Regions from separate parts of the Homo sapiens genome. Here region 2 is linked to region 1. The links are contacts of gene promoters, found by promoter capture Hi-C in blood cells and fetal thymus (Javierre and others, 2016). All regions are on one chromosome and are shown on one strand. Each heading gives the region's core, a stretch centred on a gene start or on the middle of the fragment in contact. The rest is flanking DNA. Distances are from core to core; before and after follow the strand shown. Region 1 holds the start of YAP1 (Yes1 associated transcriptional regulator). Region 2 overlaps MMP20 (matrix metallopeptidase 20).

Region 1 (4,630 bases), core at 273-2,772:
AACACACAAGGGAAGAGCAGGGGTGAAAGAACTCCATAAACAACTTCCAGGAAAGTCTGGGCAGGGGAAGCCCGAAACCTGTATTCCGAAATCGCCTGAGCCGCGAGGAAAATAAATGCTTACGGGAGGGGGAGGGGAAACGGGAGGGGGGAAGGAAAGAAAGAGCAAAAAACTAAATGGACCGGTTCTACCCCCACCTCTAATCAACACTGGAAAACAAGAGAACAATTATTTGACTCCCCCAGGAGACTGAAGTGGACCGAGAGGCCGCAAAGGAAAGGGGCCCAGGGCTCAACTTCACAAACTCGGCCGCCGCTGGCAACACACCCACACACAAATGCCAGAGGCCCCCCTCCCCCTTTCCCAGCCCGGCCCGGCGGGAGCGAAGGTGCGGAGCGCGCGGAGGCGCGCGCATTGTGCAAGCCCACCGCGGCCCAGGCCCGACTTTTCCCCACCCCCTTCCTTCCTCCCCACCCCTCCTCCACTCCCGCCAACCTCTCGGGAACCCCGGGAAGAAAGAAAGGAAGAAGGAGGGAAAGCACGCCCCCCGGGGCTGCAACCGCAGAGAGAAACTCAGAAGGGAAAAACAAATCTCAGCCCCGGACTCTGGGAGGAGTGGGGAGCTGGTCACCGCGGCGGAGTGGACGACTCCAGTTCCACTTCGCCTCGGGACCCCCACCCCAGCTAGAGTTCCCGCAACCCCCCTCCCCTGACCAGAGCTGGCGGCCGCGGCTCCCGAGCGCCCCCCCGGTCTGAGGCCCGCCCGACGGGGAAACGGGGAGAGGGGCAACGAGGTTACCTGTCGGGAGTGGGATTTGGGCTCCGGCGGCTTGAAGAAGGAGTCGGGCAGCTTCCGGAGCCTCATGGGCACGGTCTGGGGCACGTTGGCCGTCTTGGGGTTCATGACGGCGTTGAAGAGCGCCTCCAGGTCGGTCTCCGAGTCCCCGCGGACGTGCACGATCTGATGCCCGGCGGGGGGTGCCTGCGGCGCCGCCTGGGTCGCCGCGGGTGCCGGTTGCCCGGGTCCGGACGGCGGGCCCTGCCCCTGCGGGGGCTGCGAAGGCGGCTGCCCTTGGCCCTGGGGGGCCGGTTGAGGCGGCGGCTGCTGCCCGGGATCCATGGCTTCTGCCTCCCCCGACGCGCACCCCCTGACCCAGGCGAGCGAGGGCTACGCCCGGACGCCCCGGCTCCACGGGCCGAGGTGGAGAAGCGGCGACGGCTGCGGGCCGGGCGGCGCTGTCCTCGCTCTCAGGGCCGGGGGGCTGCGCCGCGGCCCCGCATCCCCCGCCCCGGCGCCTCCGCCCCCGCCCTGCGCCCCGGCTCCACTGGTCTGGCGGCTGCGCCTCGGGAGGGGCTGCGAGGCACTCGGACCTGCGGCGCCTGAGAACTTTTTCCCTCCAACTCCCTTGACGGAGGCCGGACAGCTCGTTGCCTTTCCCCGCCTCCCCTTTCTCTTTATTTCCTTTTCTTGTTCCTTCCTTCCTCCCTTTCTTTTCCCTGGCGGCGGCTGCGCCCGACTGAGACAGAAACTCGCCTCAAACGCCAAAACTAAAGTTAGGAGAAGCGCCCGCCCGCGCCGCCGCGGCCCCGCCTCCTCTCGGCTCTTCCTTCCTCTGCGCGCCCGCCCGCACCGCGGCCCGGCCGGCAGCGCAGGGAAACTTTTCGCTGCAAGTTGCTACATTCCTGCACACTCCCGGCCCGCGGCGCCTCTCCCGGCCGCACGTGACCCGCTCGCCCTGGCCCGGTCCGCCCTTCGCCCGCGCTCAGCCGGGCAGGGGCCCGAAGCGTGCCCCGTATTCTGCCCCGCGAACCGCAAACGATGGGTCCAATCCGGGTCCGAACTGTGGTGTCTGCGGAGAACGCGGGCGCCCTTGGCTGCAGGAAGTTCTTCCGCTCCGCTCGGCCCCTTTTCCCCGCCCGTGCTCGGGAAAGGCGCTTCCAGTTCGCCTGGACCTGCGAAAGGGCCAAGGCCGAAAGAAGTGGAGAGAGGATGTGCGAACCCACCTCCTCCTCCTCGCGTTACCCCGGCTTGACCGAGCGGAGCGCCTGTGCGAGCTTAAAGCCGCGAGGATAGATTGGAGTTAAAATAGATACCGTGAGCCGGCATTGATGTTAATAAAGATCCATTGTTTTCAGCATTAACTTTATTTTGTAATTGTTTCACTTATCTGTTAGTCTGCAAAAACTCACTTGAGAGGGGTAAACGGTTACTGTAATTGAAGCTTTGAGACCAGGTCTGTAACTCAGTGTAACTTATTAAAAGAAACAAAAACACTACATTTTCCAAATAGTGAAATCACATCAACTTTTTTAGTACTCGAATTTGCAATAGTCACTGGAAGCCGCAACCCAAAAAATTAGTGCGTCTTCAGGTACAAGCATTCATGCCTCTGTACCTGTCTTTCATCCTCAAGGAGCTGGGTCCCTACCCCTGCTATCCCTGTGCCTGGCCCAACGGTGGACTCCGTTAATGTGGACTGAATAAGAAATGAATGGGCAAGGAGGTCATCCCAGGCACCTGATGTACAAGGAGCCCTTCTGGAAGCCACTCAAAAACAATAGAAATGTTTTTTAAGTCATACACTCTGGGTTTTTTTTTTTTAAAGCATCCTTGTTGAGATATAATTTATATACCATACAGTTTTTGCAATAGTTGTACATATTAGTATATTTAAGCAATTCACTGTTTTTTTAAATATATTCATAGGATTGTGCAACATCAGTCTAATTTTAAATGCACAAGCCCATTCTAAGGAAATCTGGCTTTCTTGTTTTAATGATTTTGTCTACAATGCTAGTGAAACAAAGGTATAAGTAGGATTAAGCAAGGAAAAAGTCCGTGAGCAAAAAGGTAATTTCTTCCTTCAGCCAGAACATGCCCAGGAGAATTCTGAAGGATCTGTATCACTTGGTGTGGTAGGGCTCGGCCAAAGGAGCAGGCCTCAGACACTCAAAATTCTAACAGAAGATTCCAATCAACTACTCTGAACCCCCAGTTTCCTGTCTGAAAAAAAGGATCAGAGTAAATGACACCCATGACTAGTTCTTGGATTTGTTCCCACTCCTAAATGTCAAGTGCATTTAACGACAGACTTGCAGGTTCTGGAGTTACAGAGTTTTGAGTTCAGGTCCCAGTTCTGCCATTTACTAGCTGTGAGGTTTTGGACAAGTTATTTATTTCCTGTTCTTTAATATTAGCATCAGGGGTAATAACACCTACCTCATAGTTGTTGGGGCATTAAATGAGTCAATGGATATAAAGTACTTAGCCCAGTTTGGGACGTGCAGTGAGTTCCACATCAATGTCAGTTGTCATTGTTGTCCCATGTTCACAGATTATTTCACAGGTAGTAACATAGCCTCTCCTTGCAGCAGCCCTCTCTTTCTAAGCACAGCCTCAGGGACCCTGTTGGTAGTCCCTTCCTCTCTTATCCAATAATCAGTCCACACAAACAAAACCTTTGGGCAGAAACTATGCATTAAAAACTTTACCTGAAAGAAAACTTTAGGAACCAAAGTGGGCCGGGTGCGGTGGTTCATGCCTGTAGTCCCAGCACTTTGGGAGGCCAAGGCAGGGGAATCACCTGAGGTCAGAAGTTCGAGACCAGTCTGGCCAAAATGGTGATACCCTGTCTCTACAAAAAAAAAAATACATAAAAATTAGCCAGGTGTGGTGGCATGTTCCTGTAGTCCCAGCTACTCAGGTGGCTGAGGCATGAGAATCACTTGAACCCAGGAGGTGGAGGTTGCAGTGAGCTGAGATCACACCACTGCACTCCAGCCTGGGCAACACAGCGAGACTCTGTCTCAAAAAAAGAACCAAAGTGATTGAAAACCTGGGATTGGAATAGAAGCTGTCCCTTTACTAGAGCATTTACTGCTATGAACACTAACTAAAGGGCTTCAGATACAGCAGAGGCTGCTTTGTTCAATATTGTTTCACCTGCCATTAAACTGAGGACAAAATTACTTTGATAAGTGGAGTGAAAGGGTCTTTGGAGTGACTATGTTCTGTAAGCACTTCTGTATCATCAACCAAGATTTTGTAATTTACTATTCCTCGTTTATACAATTTCAACCACGGTGTAGTAGGGGATAAAGATAACATATTCAGTCCTTTGTCTACTCCCTTCCTCTTCTGCCCATTTTGTGGACCAATTATCTGTTGGCAGCATCTTAAAATAGGGAGTCACCTTCTTCGTATAAAGATGCACCCTTATCCTGGATCATTTTCAATGTCCAGGTAGATCACTATCTCAAAACATGCGTATCCCAATTAGTTGACCTGTCAACTAAAATGGACCCTCATCTCTACTTCACTTTAGCCACCTGCCCCTTCGTCTGTACTCTGCATCATCCAGAAATACTCCAGTAGTGAAGTCAGACTATGGTATACCATATTCTTAATAATCATCTGGTTCTCTTATTTCATTACTCACATCTCATTTATCCTTAACCTCTCCCTTTTCTGCAACCTATCACTCCCTTCCCTTTTCATTTCTGTTATGGTTTGGGTGTTTCTGTCTCTCCAAAATTCATGTTGAAACGTCTCCAGTGCATCAGTATTAAAGAGGTGGGGCCTTTAAGGAGGTGATTAGGTCACGAAGGTTCCTCCCTCCTAAATGGGATT
Region 2 (4,746 bases), core at 1,931-4,430, 500 kb before region 1:
AAATATTACACAAATAAAGAAGGACACCAGATTGGTGAGATGGTTGCAAGAGGAAGCAATTCCATGATAAGGAAGATTAAGGAGCTACAAGCGTTCTTTGGCCTCCAAGTCACCGGGAAGTTAGACCAGACCACAATGAACGTGATCAAGAAGCCTCGCTGTGGAGTTCCTGATGTGGCCAATTATCGCCTCTTCCCTGGTGAACCCAAATGGAAAAAAAATACTTTGACATACAGGTAATGAGATCAAGTCTTTCCAAATTCAGAGAAAAACACCACCTCTCTCTTTTTCCCTTTTCTTGAAAAAATATTTTCCTTCTCATCCGTATAAAAATCCTGACACCTCACAACCATAAGAATAAGAACTTTTTACATCCATCCGTCAGGCAATGACAATGGGCAATTCACCAGAAAATACGGTTTTAGGATTATCATAATGACTGGCTATTTTAGGCATTCCAAACAATTTTACCAGCTAGAAACAACACAATTATCTTTAATCTAGTCTAGGATTAATGACCTGGCAGTACAAACCAGTTTTCTTAAAACAACCTGCTTAATGAGAAAGAAAAAAATAACCTACTAATAAAGTAATTTATTTCATTGATTCCAAAAATCTTTTATTGATGATTCAAGAAATGCATTCCATTTGAGGGTTATAAAGGTGAACAGGTCAACTTTCTTGACCTTAGGGAACTCACAGTCCTTTAAGGAGAGACAGACATGCAAACAGACAGCTGTAGCTCTGTGTGAAAAGTGCAAAAGCATAGCTCTAAGCAGTGAACTGTGGGACCACAGTTCACATGGACAGAGCTACCAAGTGGCCCAGGGACCAGCAGTAACATCTGAGCCTGATTCGAAGGCAAAGCAGAAGCAGTTCCACTCTTAGCCCCAAGCTCCCCTCACTCCTTCCCTGCCCTCTTTCTTCCCTCCCCTAATCCTCTGGCTTCATCCCTTATAAACCAAGGGGACACACCCAACCAGAACCTCTGTCCCTCCCTGCTGTGCTCAGGGTACGGAGTCTGGAATTCCCTCTCCCACAGCCAGACCTGATTCTGGGAGCCAGCGCAGACTTCCTCCCCAGGTTGGTCCAACCAAGGGCAAACTATGTATGGTACCTGCCCCTCAGCCTGAGGTAGGGGTGGATGGTGCCTGCCTGCGTGGGCCTCATGCATGACAGATGGGTGCAGGTCAGAAAAGAAGAGTGGACTCCACTCTTTGTGGTCCTGCCCCAGGCCTTGCACATGTAAGGAGTTTTCTAAGGAGAAAACCAGACCAAGCATATAGCAGCAGAGAGTGGACAGACTGGCATGTTGATGGGCAGCATTCCCACCACAAGTGCCTAGTGCATGCGGCTGCAGCAGAGGGTGCAGGAAGGGCAATGGCAGGAAATGAGCTGGAGGGGCAGCCTGAAGGGCAACTAGAGCGTGATGTCAAGGAGTTTGGACTTTATCCCCAGGGCGGTGGAGAGCCAGGCCAGGACCAGGATCAGATTTCCCTTTTAGGATGAGCACATCTAGATGATAACTGGAGATGGGGAAAGGCTGGACTCGTGCAATAGTCTAAGCAGTGGTATGGTAGAGCTGCCGCCTAATAGCTCACAGAAGCCAATCCTTAAAATGTCAGGAATTTTGCAGCCACTTGTTAAGCTCCCAAGAATTTTGTGAGCTGGTTGCTAAGACAGCCATTGTTAAATTATGTAAATTTACTATTAAATAAATCATATTACATTACATTAAATAAATTAAATTATATTATATTAAATAAATTATATTAAATAAGTATATTATTTCATATTTATATTTATTATTAAAATATATTTTTGTAGTAATAAATAAAATACTATTTATTAATAATATATTATTAAAACATTATTTTATAATAATAAATAAAATACGTTATTTATTATTATATGTTATATTATTTAATAGGTATAATTATTTAATAAATTACATTAAATTATATTAAATACATTATATTAAATAATTACATTAATATAATAAATTATATTAAATTATATTAAAAATAAAGGTAATAACATATTGCCTCTTATTTCACTACATTTTATTATTTTCTCTGTTCATGAGGCTATGTACATCTGTATAATCTGAGTGGTTCATTCATGCTCATCTCTTCACAACCTGGCATTCAGTGATGGTAAGTTGGTAGCTTGAATTAGCCATAGTGAGAATATTTACAACACAGAAATCAGCAAGTCATGCAAATCAAGTGGGTTTTTTTTTTTCTCCTTGTAGAGCCACTTGTTAACCTGTTCCAGCACACCAGTGAGTCCATTTGATCAAAGGAGGGGCCAGAATCCAGGGAACAGTCATGAATCCCCTAGGCCACTTGTTACCTGCTATCAGCCAATAAATCCATAAGGTGGCAGGCTGAACAAAAAAACAAAGCAATTGGGGGAGAAAAACCTCATAGGAGTTGAACACAAAAGTGATTCTGAAATAGTAAGAATAAGACAAGAAAAATGTGTACGCATCGACAGAGTCTTTTCATAGTTTTCTTAAAGTAAACTGTGTTCTGGAATTTTAGTCCATGACTATGTACAACAAAGACAAGAAGCCTGGGTCAAGATAATGTGATGCTTAGGGAAGTATAATATTCTTGTGATAAGCTGGGCAGTCTTAAAAACCCCTCAACACACACATTGCCTATCCACTCTTGCTCCCCAATAACTCTACCATCGCCTCCCCATGAAAAAGGACACTAGAGGCTATCACAGTACTCTGCCTGTGTAGCTACTGACTTTCAGAATAACTTCTTACAACATAACCCAGAGGATTACAAAAGGAAAAAAAATACAGCATAGTGCTTATATGCATAAGCTTTGGAGTCAGACAGAACTGGGCTCAAACCTGACTAATCATAACATGTAGATGATGATGATGATCTTCCTCTTAGGGGTCGAAGTGAGGATTAGATAAATGCCACATTAAAAAGTGCATACAGCAACAGCACATAGTGTGACTTCAAAGAATATTGGCTAGTATTACTATTGCTTTATCAAGCTCCAGACCCTGATTCGGGGATCCCTTTTTCCATGTTCTCTTCTTCTCTGGTGCTATCCCTCTCTCCTTCCTTGTCTTCTCCAGGCCAACACACAAAGTCAGCTCAAAGATATGGCTGACTTACCAAAAATGCGAGGGCATGTCAAAGTACTAAGTCCACCTAGTTGTGATAAATTGCAGACTCATATTATGCAGTGGGCTTGGCATATTTTGAAAGCATTAAATAGTCCCTTTAAGGGTCTGTCTGGTATCCCCCTTCAATTCTATAGCTCTCTTCTTTTGGCCCCAAACCTGGGGTTAAAGAGCTCCTTGTTCCTTCCCTCTCAAGTCCTGAATTGAGCTATTTGCTATCCTTTCTGTGGGCACAGTCCTTTCATTTGGGACCCTAGGATTACTGCTGTTGGTTTCTCATTGAAATTGCACCATCTGCATTATAATAACCTAAGATACCTTTCAAAACACAGATTTCTGGATCATACCTGTATTTTTAACAAGCTTCCTAGGTAATTATCACAGGTCCTAAACTTCGAGAGCCACTGAGTGGGCCCTAAAACAGCTAGCTTTAATTCTTTAATTCATTCATTTATTTATCAAGCAATTGCTAAGCATCTGCTATGTGCAAGGCACTAAACTAGGAGCTAGAGAGAGAGAGAGAAAGCAGGGCCGGTCCCTGCTCATGGGGTTGGCTCTCACAGACACAGCTTCTCACTTTGCATCATATTCCAGCCCAGCCCAAGGTCTCGGGTAGAAGTTGCCCTCCCTGCCTTTCCTTTGTGTGCTGCCAGAAATCCCCAGACCCTGGGCTTCAGAGCAGAAAGTTCTAACAATCACCAACTCTGACTCCACCCACAGTCCAAAAAGCACTACATTTTTCTGCCTTCAGGTGTCATCGTCACACCAGTAATTGCTGAAAGGCTCACCCTTTTTTCAATTCCAGTGAGCCTCCGTTTTTAAAGCTAGCCCTTCCTCTTTAAGAATGTATTATTTTGGGCTGGGGGCAGTGGCTCACGCCTGTAATCCGAGCACTTTGGGAGGCTGAGGAGGGCGGATCACCTGAGGTCAGCAGTTCAAGACCAGCCTGGCCAACATGGTGAAACCCCGTCTCCACCAAAAATATAAAAATTAGCCCGGCGTGGTGGCGGGCACCTATAATCCCAGCTACTCAGGAGGCTGAGGCAGGAGAATCAATTGAACCTGGGAGGCAGTGGTTGCAGTGAGCAGAGATCATGCCATTGCACTCCAGCCTGGGCGACAAGAGCAAAACTCCATCTCAAAAAAAAAAAAAAAGAAAGAAAAGAAAAAGAAAAAAGAAAAGAATGCATTATTCTGAGGGAAAAAAAAACCTTCCCCAATAGCCCTGGGGAAATCCTGAGGAGCTTTGAATAAGAATTAGCAAAACTTCAAAACTCCACATTTCTATTTTTTATAATTGAAAACATCCAGTCCCTTTGGGGAAAAAGAGGTCCTCTCTCAATGAAAACGACTTTAAGAAAAATTGACTACTTACTACCTGTAACATTTCACAAGTTTTATTTATCTTATTTATTTATTTAATTATTTTTGAGTGAAGTCTCACTGTGTCACCCAGGCTGGAGTGCAGTCGCCCGATCTTGGCTCACTGCAACCTCCACTTCCCAGGTTCAAATGATTCTTCTGCCTCAGCCTCCCAAGTAACTGGGACTACAGGTTTGCACCACCACGCCCAGCTAATTTTTGTATTTTTA

The links. The method cuts DNA at HindIII sites, captures the fragments that hold promoters and counts their contacts. A CHiCAGO score of 5 or more calls a contact.
Region 2: a contact is called between a fragment that was not itself captured here and the fragment with the promoter of YAP1 in region 1, in 1 of 17 cell types (fetal thymus). The highest score is 6.2, in fetal thymus.

Annotation. Positions count from the first base shown.
Region 1 is chr11:102,107,339-102,111,968 of GRCh38, reverse strand. YAP1 (Yes1 associated transcriptional regulator) reads right to left here and starts at 1,522. Exons shown (of 9, transcript NM_001130145.3): 1 at 800-1,522. The coding sequence starts at 1,120. It overlaps YAP1-DT (YAP1 divergent transcript), which reads left to right and starts at 1,512. Exons shown (of 1, transcript NR_198976.1): 1 at 1,512-2,142. RefSeq lists silencers at 1,610-1,739, 1,750-1,799. The HindIII fragment of the contact is 4,853 bases long and covers 1-2,224 here.
Region 2 is chr11:102,612,302-102,617,047 of GRCh38, reverse strand. MMP20 (matrix metallopeptidase 20) reads left to right here. Exons shown (of 10, transcript NM_004771.4): 2 at 1-236. Among named protein-coding and RNA genes, the nearest start is that of MMP20, 11 kb to the left of the region's middle. RefSeq lists enhancers at 737-1,236, 1,237-1,738. The HindIII fragment of the contact is 678 bases long and covers 2,842-3,519 here.